3 separate regions of the Homo sapiens genome follow, and regions 2 and 3 are each linked to region 1. Evidence: promoter capture Hi-C in 16 types of primary human blood cells and fetal thymus (Javierre and others, 2016). All regions are on one chromosome and are shown on one strand. Each heading gives the region's core, a stretch centred on a gene start or on the middle of the fragment in contact. The rest is flanking DNA. Distances are from core to core; before and after follow the strand shown.

Region 1 (3,680 bases), core at 573-3,072:
ATTAATAGATAGAGATAGATGAGAGATAGAGATGACCCTGGCTTTATCATTTATTAATATCATTTCGACAAGGCAGAGACCCCAGCCCATGGAGAAGCTGTTGGTGGTGTGGCTGAGGTATGCAAATGTTTATGCACACGTGTGTTTTTGAGGGGGAAGAGAGGAAGGAAATGGGGGAGAGGAAAGAAGAAAAACAATGGGACAAAGCACCCAGGGCCGCCATTCACGGGTCCATGTGTTAAATAGGTGGTTATTTGAATAGTTGCTGCTGAAAGCTTCTGCTACCTTCCCCAGGTCAGGAATGAAACACACAGGCCCTGGTGGTGGCTCTGGTTTTTTCTGGAATTGTTCTACTGGAAACTGCTCTCTGTGAATTGACGGCTAATGAGACAAGCATCCGGAGCGAATGAGGGGCAGTGCCCTCCTCCCGCGTCCCCCTCGTGGGCTCCTCCCAGGCCGAGGAAGCTCGCTGCCCAGGCTTGGACAGACCCCCGAACAAAGGGAGCCGACAGCTCCACAACACTCAGCCCATGGGGACTGCAGCAGGTGAGTCTCCACCCAGCCTCCCTCCTTTGGACCAACACGAACTCCGGAGACGTCTGGGTGCAGCTGCCTCAGGCCCTGCTGTCTTCAACGGGGACTGAGGTTGCAGTTTAGCTGGCTTTCCTGTTCCTGCTTCCCCGGGTCCCCCTCAAAGAAGCCGCCTGCACCCCGTGCCACCTCACTCTGGCATAGCCCTACTTCTCCAAACCACCAGGCCTGCCCTCCCTTGTCCACGCAGATCTGACAATCTCCACAGTGCTGTGCAGACTTCAGCTCCAAGAAGTTGCAAGTGATGGAGATAAAATCCCTTCCTGAGAGAGTCATGAACCGTGGCCTGTTTGAGGTCAAAAGAAGAAATGAGAACAAAGCCAAGCCAAGGCTTCGGAGTGAGCCCTGAGACACCTCTCAGCTGGCCGGGTGGCCAGAGATCCACCCTGCAGGAGCCGCCCCGAGGCAGGTGGGCCACATCTCCCAACAAGCGGCACACAAGAAGGCCCCTCGCAAGAGGAGGCATCTGTGGTCTTCCCAGAGCAAAGGCAGCAGCCCCGGGAGCCCAGCCAGTCACTGGCCACCTGCACGCCTCTACACAGCAGACCTGGCCAGGCGGGCAGTGCCCCTGGCCCCTTGCGAATAGAACGTTGTGGAACAGGCGGAACCTGGGCAGCTGTCCTGCACTCTGGCCAGCCAGTCCGTGGATGCTCCTGCCAGGCAGGACTGAGCCACTGCCAGTCTGGCCGGTGCCAGCCTTTTCTCAGATCCAGCCACGCCCTCTCTGGATACGGTCTGGACACCGGCAGACCAAGCAGGCAGTTGCCTCCCTGGCTGGCTCTGACCTCCTGCAGCACAAGGAGAGGATGCACTGCACTGCCAGGCCTCTGGGCACCGAGGGCCGCTGCTCCGCCGTTTCTTTCTGCTACCGCTAATTCAAAACAGGGCAGGGAGCAGCTAGGCAGCAGCTGGGAGAGCTGCGGGCTCCTCCACCCGGTTGCTGGTGGGCTCCATCCGGCCGCACCGCCCGCACCTGCTCACCTCCAGCTGCCTCGGCCCCAGCGGCACGGACGGACTCAACGGCGACCACCGCGGCAGCTCCCCGGGGACTCCTCGCAGGTCAGCTGAGCTTTGCTTTCAGTCGGCGTGCACGGTTCCCAAACGTCGGTGGTGATTTTTGTAAGTGAGGTGGGGGTCACCACAGGAAGAGAGGGGAGGCAAACCTCCCTTCCCGCTGTGTCCCGCCTTTCCTCCTGGCGGTTGCGTTTCCACGTGTCCTGCCTGCTGCCCGCCCCAGCCCACACTGAGCAGGAAGGTGGGGCGTGGCGGGGAGGGGAGTGGAACTGAGGGAAGCAGAGAGGGTGGTGCCATTGCCCCCGGCCTAGCTTCTGTTTGATCATTAGTTTCAATTCAAGAAAACGTTCTTTTGAGGGAATTTTAAAAATGAATCACGTGCACCTCTTAAGAAAACCGAGTGTCACAATCGTTGTTACCACGCAGGTGAGAGGAGAGGAGGGAGGACGGGAAAGGGAAGGGGCATGAGAAAGGCGGATGGGACTGAGCTTCTACGGCTCCCTGGCCGCGGCGCACGCGCTGGCCCTCCCCGTCCACAGCAGCAGCGGCATCCTCCCCACCCTACAGCGAGGAGGTGGACGTTGCCCCGAGGGGAGGAGCGTGTCAGGGTGGCTTCCAGGTGCAGGTTCTCGCGCAGGCCTCAGCCTTCATAGGTGCATTCCGCTCTAGAACATTCCTGTTCATGCGTGGTCGTCGCTCACTGGTGGCCGCTTAGGTGCACTTCTCAATGGCAGTGCCCAGCACGGAGCAATGCCTCGGAGTGGCAGTTTCTTCAGTACGGTCCCCACGGCCTCTCCCAAGGCGGAGGATGCTGCCGCCAAGGAAACTGGCTCACCACGGACGCTGGTGAGCTATGGAGCTATCAGTGAGGTGTGGATTTCTCAGGCCTCTGGCGGGAGCCGGAGTAAAGGCCCTGAGTGTCTAGACCAGCCAGAGTGTCTGCGTGTAGGTCAGCAAATGTGGGCAAATGTCTAGGCGGTGGTGTCCTGCAGGGAGCCGAAGGCCCGTGGGGGACGTGACCAACTCAGCATTCCGCTGGAGGCTACAAACAGCAAACTGTTTATCATGAATGCAGGATGTGGGCAAACTCACACTGCCCTGCCACCAAAAGGTTTGCTAACAGACATCACTCCCTAGCTCCGGGCTCCTTAAAGTTATCTGCCTAAAAAATCTAGTGCCTATTGTCCAAAAAATGCAAGACTACTGTGAACCAAACGGCAGACTGACAATCACCCCCCTCCCCCAGCTTTCTCGCTATCTCTTTTTGCCTAATAAATACGGAGGGCTGTGTAAAGCTCAGGGCCCTTGTCCACTAAAGGCAAGGTGCCCCTAACCCCTTCTTCCAAATATACTCTGTTGTCTCTTGTCTTTTATTCCCGTGTTGCCCGCCTTTGTTCAGTCCAGTAGGTCCCCAACAATGTCCTGAGGGTATGAATCCTGAAAGACTACTCTCCATGAAGCAGGTATTTACCAGGTTAGTGCATGTTTCCTGGGTATTAAGGGAAAACAGTAAAATGTTCTGTACGGGGGTCCCGGTTCTGTGTCGCACGAGAAGAGTGTGTGTCTTTTTACTTTTTTAATATGGCTCAATAAAATTTTAAATCACATATGTGACTCTCATTGTATTTCTATTACACAATATGCTTTTTACCATGTCAAAATATCGGGTGGTTTCAATCAAATTGGTTAGTTAGCACCGTGTTCAAGAAAAACTCTTCTTTTAGGAAGGTACTAAAAGGTTCGTTGGTTGGGTTTTTTTAATGGAATTATATAACGTGTTATCACTAATTTGGATGCAGAATAGGAGTCTGGGGGTTGGCTGTAATGGCCTCTGAGGTCTTCTAAGCCTTATAGCTCTGTGATATTAAACTTGGTAAAAAGATGCCAAGAGATTCCTAGATGACAAGCCAGAAAGTATTCGCAGCCCATAAAGTAGAGACAACTCAGCCGCTGTGAAGAGATAAACATCTCCACCGCCACGTTCGTAGTCTCCTCCTCAAGGCCTCAGTTTTGGGTCTGGTGATCTGGCTCTAGTCCCCCACTCCAGGTGGGAGCTTCGCAGGCATGGGCTAGTT
Region 2 (3,680 bases), core at 466-2,965, 350 kb before region 1:
TCATTTAGGGCTATGGTTTCCAGGCTTGAGGGTGGTGACTTGCCAGGGAACTGCCCTCTTCTGCCCAGTATTTCCCTGCCTCCTGTCCATATCAATTTGATATTTTTTGTGACACAGGTAGATAATTATCATAATCTGAAAAATAGCTTTCCATTGCAGGGGAAAGGGTTTGAGGTTCTGTCAACAACCCATGGACCTCTGGTCTATAGAATGAACAAAGAAATAATGTCATATAGATAAGCTACCTTGAGCCTTCTGGCAATTTCAGACTGTTTATAAATGTCTTGCTAAACTGTGAGGCCTACAAGGACGTAGGCTATGCCCGTCTTGCCTGCCATTACTTACCCAGCCTGGCACACAGCAAACACTCCGGTAATAGTGGTCACGCCAAAAAGTTATGACCACTTGGTGTCACTCAGCTTCCAGACTTTGTTACCTTACCAAGCCCGCTCCCACCTTCTGCTAACCTCCTGACCTTCGGAAGAAACCACCAATTCTGCAGTGGGCTCTGCACGCTCCCCAACTCTCAGCAGCAGTGTTGGTTAAACGAGTGAACATTCTGGTCTCTTCTATGAGCAGACCCAGGGGGTCAGCTGAGTCTCAAGTGTACACAAGGAGAAAGACATCCATGGGATAGCAGGGAGTTAGTGACACCAGCGCCCACAGGGCATCATGAACTCCACCTGGAGTCAACTCAGTGCTCTGCTGTCAAACTCCCCACAAGAAATGACAAGTTTGTGTCCTACAGCATCAATGCAAGGAGCCTGGCACCTACCAGGCAATTTCCAGCTGTCACTCATAGCTCAGCTCCTTGTAAATCTACTGCTAATGAGTTTATCTTGATTCTTCATGGACCTATTTAAGAATTCAGCTCTTCAATTTCATGGGGTATTTGCTGAGAGCAACAGACACTAGGAGAGGCCATGGTCTCTACTTCTTGCAGGAATTCTCTTAGGTTTTCTGCAAAGTGGGGAGCAGGGCTTGCCCTGTCTACTTCAGCCATACCCAGATAGCTTCCATCTCCCTTTGTGAGGCCAAAGGTTTTATCCTACCTGCATATGGAAAATCATTTTCCCTTTAAGTTTGCGGGTGCTTTTTGCCCAGATAAGCTTGCCTCAGGGTCCGGAGATGCTGCTCTTTATCACAGTTACTGGGTCCCATCTCCCCTCTCTGGGAAGCCCCTCATCTTCTCATGCAGATCTCACCAGAACTTGATTCCTGCAGGGGCTCCCTGCTGCACCAGCCCCACCGTCCCCAGCACCCAGCGTGTCTCCACCTGCGTGATTCGGTGAAGGCCCATCTCCTCCCAGGCTCAGACTCACAGTGGCAGAAACCATGGCTGGTTTTGAAGACAGATTTAACGCCAGCTCCGCATACCAAGCCTGAAACAGAAGAAGTGCTGGCAATATCTGTGGAGTGACAAAGTGCTGCACATTGCATTACCTCACAACTTCACAACTGCAGGATAGATTCCTGTCTGACTTTCTCCTTTGTGTCACGTCCCTATAAAAAATTAGTTGCACCTTCTCTTGGCTTTTTGACATAGGATGTATCTTCCACTGGCTTTTTTAAATAATAAATTCTGGGGCGACCTAGCATTCCTTTGGCTTTTAATAAAGTGTTTTAGAATGTCTCCAGGTTCCTTGTGGGCCTTTAGTTTTGAACATTTCACCATTATCCCCCAGCTAATCCCCGTGTCGTGCTGCCCCTCACCCGCGACCCTACACGTTTCCCCTCTGCTTCTGTTCAACGCTTTCTGAAGATGAGAGCTTAGAGCACTTAATTATTGATGATCCTATTTCTCCTCATGCAAATTTCATCAATTCACAGAGATACCAATTGTAGCTCCTGGGCAAATCTGATATTTTCTTAATGTTCAGCAATGTAGCAGAGCGCCACAGCTGTTCTGTCACTGATGCTGGGAAAAGGAGGGGGCAGGGCCAGCGCTCTGCTTCACCTGGAGAGAAAGAGAAAAATCCCCATTATTTCAGCACTGACTCACATTTACCAGAGGCCCCCACAGATGGGCTGAGCTGGCCTAGGATGTCCCACTGCCCCTAGGACACCCTGAAGCCCTGACGGGGGCAGGGAGCAGGGGCTCCTGAACTTTATTTCATTACTGTGAGTGCTGCACGGCCTGATGAGGGACACCTTGCCCGGCTGGAGGGGGACTGTGGAATAAGGAAAGCAGTAAGAGCTCTCAGGGTGGGCGGCCGAGGGCTAGGTCCGCATGAGCCACCAGCTCTGAGCAAGGCTTAGAACTTCGCCACCATCACACCTCGTAAACTGTCCTGCTTTGGAAAAGTGGACTTGTGCAGGACTGAAGCTTGCTCAGCCAAGGGAAGGACAGAGGAACTACCTGACCCATTCTTAATTTGTCTGTTTCAGAAACACTAGGTTGTTCCAGGGTGGTCTACACTCCTAACATTTCAGAAACTGAACCACACCCACAAGAAACGAATGGGCCTCTCCAAGCATATATTTAGGGAAAGGGCATATAAACTAGATTACAGCGTGGAGGTACTCATTATTGATAAGAAGTGACTTAAAGTTTTTATAACAGAAAAGTGGAAGATGAAGCTCAGCAAATATATGTCTGTGTGTGTATGCACACACGCATGTAAGTATATATATGCACACACACATATATACACACAAACACACATATGCACACACACATATGCTAATATATATTCACGGAAGAAAAGAGCATTAATAGAACATAAGGGCCCCAAGAACTGCTAACTTAGCGGCACAGATGGTATATCCAAACTGGCGTGTTCTCACTTTGTTATATTAGAAACCCAGCCATGGCTGCGCGATGGATAATATCACACATTCTGCTGAGCTCCACAACCAACATTTCTATGGGCTTGTCAGGAAAATGCCCTTCCATATGCAGGAGGAGCCATTGCCGCTGGCGTCTGGGGTTACCTGGCAGGCATGCCTACTGTAAGCTGAGTCGTCAACCTTCAGATGGATAGTAAGGAAATTTAACCCACAAAGACCTTGTGGATATCCAGGAATACATGGGTTCTTCATAAATAAAGACACCCAGCTTCCAGTCCCATTATTATTTCTGTGGAAATTTAAGCAAGTCTTTAATGCCTGTTTACTAATCAGTGAGTGAGGGTGCTGGCAGCTCCAGTGGCTCAGCTGACTATTGATGCTTATTAGGGGACACTGCAGGGGGAAGTGCCTTCATAAAGACATAGCCACATCCCTGTGGGTTTGTGATGGGATGCCGGTGGCATTAGGCACAGCCAGAGAGTGCTGACATCCTGCAAGATAAAGAAATCAGTTGGGCGCGGTGGCTCACGCCTGTAATCCCAGCACTTTGGGAGGCCGAGGCAGGCGGATCACGAGATCAGGAGATCGAGACCATCCTGGCTCACACGGTGAAACCCTGTCTCTACTAAAAAGACAAAAAAAAAATTAGCCAGGCGTGGTGGCAGGTGCCTATAGTCCCAGCTACTCAGGATGTTGAGGCAGGAGAATGGCGTGAACCTGGGAGGTGGAGCTTGCAGTGAACCAAGATCGTGCCACTTCACTCCAGCCAGGGCGACAGAGTGAGACTCCGTCTCAAAAAAAAAAAAAAGAAATCTTACTCTATGCAGACTCAATGCACAGAAACCTGGGCTAGACAGTGAGAGTCCCCTGGGAACTGAACAGGCCAGAAT
Region 3 (3,680 bases), core at 678-3,177, 290 kb before region 1:
TAATCTGTTGCTTATTTTAAAGTGCTATATCTTGAATCTTGTGCCCAGTGGTGTTGGTGTTGGTGTTGGTGGCCATTATGTCAAAGGCAGACACAGGCATGGCAGACAGAAGCAAAAAGCCCAAGGTTATTTAATAGTCACAGAGGCCTGGTTTTATTTTTGAATTATCCCATGATGTTTTTCCAAAGACTTCCAGCCTCACCTTACAATGCAGGTAATTCTCCTTTCAGAGGGCCCCTCCCTCATCACCAGCAACTGAAGACCACTTGATTTACGAATTCTCTAAGGGTTTATTGAGCACCTAATGAGTGTCAGGTACAACGGTACAACGGTAAGCCTGCAAATACAAATATCGTGAAGCCCAGTTTCTGTTTCCAACAAGCCAAGACCCACAGAATTGAAAGACAGTAGTGACCCAGTTGGCACCTGCATCTATGGGCACTGAGCAATGAGAAATGTGCCCACATCAGCCGAAGCAACCCAGGAGGCCTTCCCAGAGGAGAGGAGCTCTGAGCTGAGGTCTGCAATGGAAGGAGGTGCTGCCGGCACACAGGCGCATGGAAGGCGTCCCAAGAAGAGGGAGGAGGCCGCCCAGCTCACCCCTAGAGCCTGGGCTTTCAAGTGGAAACAGAAGTTGGAGAAGAACCAGTTCTCAGAGCTGCAGGGTGGCACAATAGGAGAAGGGAGTGGGGTGGGGAAACTGAGATACAGGATGCCCCTCCTCAAAGCCCTGCCCCTCCCCAGTCTCCAGAGTCACCCACACTAGCCCTGGGCCCGCACAGCCCCCGCCCATGGCAAACCTCAGTCTCACAGCTGAGACTGAGGATGAGGCCGACACCACCTCCCACGGCCTCCACGGCCAGGCCCATGGTCACCACAGAGCCTGGGGGCCGAAGTACTCAGCTGCTGGACTCCGGCCACAGCCCTCCTGCCCTGGGTGCTGACTCCAGCCCCAGCCCTCTTGCCCCAGCTGGCACTGGTGCTCTCCTCCCAGACAGTGCGGTGCTATCTAAGGGAGATCCAAGACAGAACACAATCCTCTTTTTTAATTCAAAGAACACAAATTTGAGACCTCATATAAGCCAAAAATGTGTCTCCAGTGATTCCTGTCGGTGGGCAGTGGTGGGTGGAATAAAGCAACGAGAGGAGGGCTACATTCAGCTGAGCTGGCTGGGTCCCTTTAGTGGCTCATCCTGCCCTCCTTCTGGGCTCCTGTGTGCTCACACCTTGGGCACCACCAGTGCTTAGGCTTTGGAGAGAGCAGGCGTTGTCCCCCCAAGCTCGGGAGCAACATGAACGAGACCTCCCATGTGGGAACCAACCCATGCATTGAGTTAGATGTGCTGGCTGAGCAGAGCTCACTATGTTGAGGGAGAGAAGGCCACGTGCACCGCAGACATCTGACCCATGGAGGAGAGAATTCGGGAAGAGACAAGCCATGGGGGGTTTGATAAGACTGGAACCTCGGAAGTGACCTTCTGTTGGCCCCACCGGGAGGAAGGAGCTTTCCGCAGTGCCTGTGGCTTGGTCTGGAAGTTGCATCTCAGCAAAGCCCCCTGAGGTGTGGTTGTCAGCCAGCACATTTGACCCAGCGCATGGGTTGGTTCCAAATCCACATGACTCTGTAGCCCGCAGGTCCACAGGCTCCTCGTCATGAGCCAACTCCCTGCATTGGATGCAGCTGCAGGGAGCATTGTGTTGGGAAGAGATCTAGGACAAGGCACCGAGACACATTGGTGATGTTTGCTGTGAACAGGGAAGGCAGCGTGGGAAATTTCGTCAGGCACACGTCTGAAGTGACACTGGGATCTCACAATCAGAACCCAGACTACGCAATCAATTCGTCTAGCGTTGACTCAGAAACAGTTACTGCCACACGCCGGGGTTCCCAGCACCTTCGCAGGAGTGCAGCAGGAGGCAGCAGAGAACAGAATCCAGGTGCCCAGATTCTCATCTGCACATCTGCCAATGGGTGAGGGAGGGCCACAGACTGGAGGGAAGGCAGAAGAGAACGTCTCCATGATTTCAACCAGCCGGTCCCCATCTCTCTAGCAGTCACCAAGCAGTGAGGCCCCGCTCACGTCGACTGACACGTACGTGCTTCTTGGGCATTCTTCTGTGCTCCATGCAAGATAATTGCTGTTTTTTTTTCTTTAGTCTTTATATCCTTTCAACTATCTGGAAGTGTCCTACAAATAAGTGTCCCCCTGGGCAGAACTCCCAAATAGTCACCCCTTTGCCCCCACTCCCCTCCACCCTGGGCCTGCCCTGACCCAACTCCCATGCTCCTGCTCGAAGCCACTAACAAGCCCAAGAGGATATTTCAAGCAGCCAGGAAATGTGTCCACACTGGGAAGCAGCACCGGAGGCTTCATTCGAGTCCATGTGGATGCACGAGCGCTGCCTCCCTTTCAGCCTCCCACTGTTTGCTGGAGCATGGTGTTCACGGAGCTAATCAGAGTCCTCTGCCATCTGGAGCCCACAGGTGCCACAGGTGTTAAAAAGTGGATTTACAGACTCTGCCATTGTCCAGGGCAAGCGCTGGCCTCCAGCTCCTGCTTTGACAAAGATTTGGCAAATGTTTTAGAATGTTTAACTCCTGGGTGGTGCTTAAAGAACTGGTTGGAGAAACAAGTGATTCAAGATGCAGGTGTTCTGAGAGCAGTAGGAACAGTACAGGAGGGAGAGCCAGAGGATGGCTGGCGTCAACCTCGGAGCCCCACTTCCTCCAAGTCTCTTTCCTCACCTACAAAATGAGGATGGCCAGCCTTATTGGGAAAACTCAAATATCATAAGTAAGTACTTCTTCAATTCTTATCACCAAACTGCTCTACAAATAAATATGGGGGCTGTCGGCCCGGGCTGCACAGGAGCTGGTTTAATTCCAGCATCCCCTGGATTGATCAGTCGCATCAATGTGAGTGACAAGCCCACCAGCTTTGCTCCCTGTCCATGAAGATACGTCTCGTTCCCCCTTTTCTTTTGTATAACCCACAGGCTTCTTACAATGAGTTACCACCTCATGTTCTGAAAATTACAGCTTCTGAAGGACAACTTCTTAGAAGCAAGATTTGTCACCAAGAAAAGAATGTGTTGTTGATAAAAACTATACTCCCAAGGATTGGTGGCCACCTGCCTGAGCAGTTTCCAAGTTTACCCCAAGGAGGCCCCAGAAGGCTCTTGATAGTTGTGCTAGTTAAGGGTAAAGGGATGCTCTCATATTCTTTACTTTGAGATGAAGAATTTAAACTCAGACTAAGTAATTGTCAGGTGGGCGTATGCCCTGCTAAGAGAAGAGGTGGGCTGAAAACAATCAGCATCATCCATCTCCTTGTACCACACATGAAGCCTATAAGCACCAATCCCTCCCTGGGGTGGGGGCCGAGCAGGGGATGCAGCACAGCACAGCCTGGACCTCACCATGCCACCCATCTCCAGCCACTGCCTCCCTCCATCCCTTCTCTCCCGGCTTATCTCTGTGAACTCGCATCTTCCAATGTCATTTATGTTGCTGCTTTTGGCACTTCTCTTCCAACCCCCTCTGCTCCCTGAGCCACCCTCTACTCTAGTGCCTTATTTCTGAATGCAAAGCACAAAAACCCAGGAGCGGCTGCCTCAAGCTAGATGGGAATTCCTTGTGCCATCCTACCACAGACATATCTTGGTTTGCTCAGGGTTGA

What was found. The method cuts DNA at HindIII sites, captures the fragments that hold promoters and counts their contacts. A CHiCAGO score of 5 or more calls a contact.
Region 2: a fragment that was not itself captured here is called in contact with the fragment with the promoter of LINC01558 in region 1 in 1 of 17 cell types (endothelial precursors); the score reaches 5.8 in endothelial precursors.
Region 3: a contact is called between a fragment that was not itself captured here and the fragment with the promoter of LINC01558 in region 1, in 1 of 17 cell types (endothelial precursors). The highest score is 7.6, in endothelial precursors.

What each region holds. Positions count from the first base shown.
Region 1 is chr6:167,795,037-167,798,716 of GRCh38, forward strand. It overlaps LINC01558 (long intergenic non-protein coding RNA 1558), which reads right to left and starts at 1,823. Exons shown (of 4, transcript NR_026773.1): 1 at 1,573-1,823. It overlaps LOC441179 (a long non-coding RNA gene), which reads left to right and starts at 493. Exons shown (of 1, transcript NR_149041.1): 1 at 493-3,212. The HindIII fragment of the contact is 6,189 bases long and covers 274-3,680 here.
Region 2 is chr6:167,444,380-167,448,059 of GRCh38, forward strand. No RefSeq gene overlaps it. Among named protein-coding and RNA genes, the nearest start is that of TTLL2, 120 kb to the left of the region's middle. The HindIII fragment of the contact is 1,217 bases long and covers 1,108-2,324 here.
Region 3 is chr6:167,500,291-167,503,970 of GRCh38, forward strand. No RefSeq gene overlaps it. Among named protein-coding and RNA genes, the nearest start is that of TTLL2, 180 kb to the left of the region's middle. The HindIII fragment of the contact is 5,644 bases long and covers 1-3,680 here.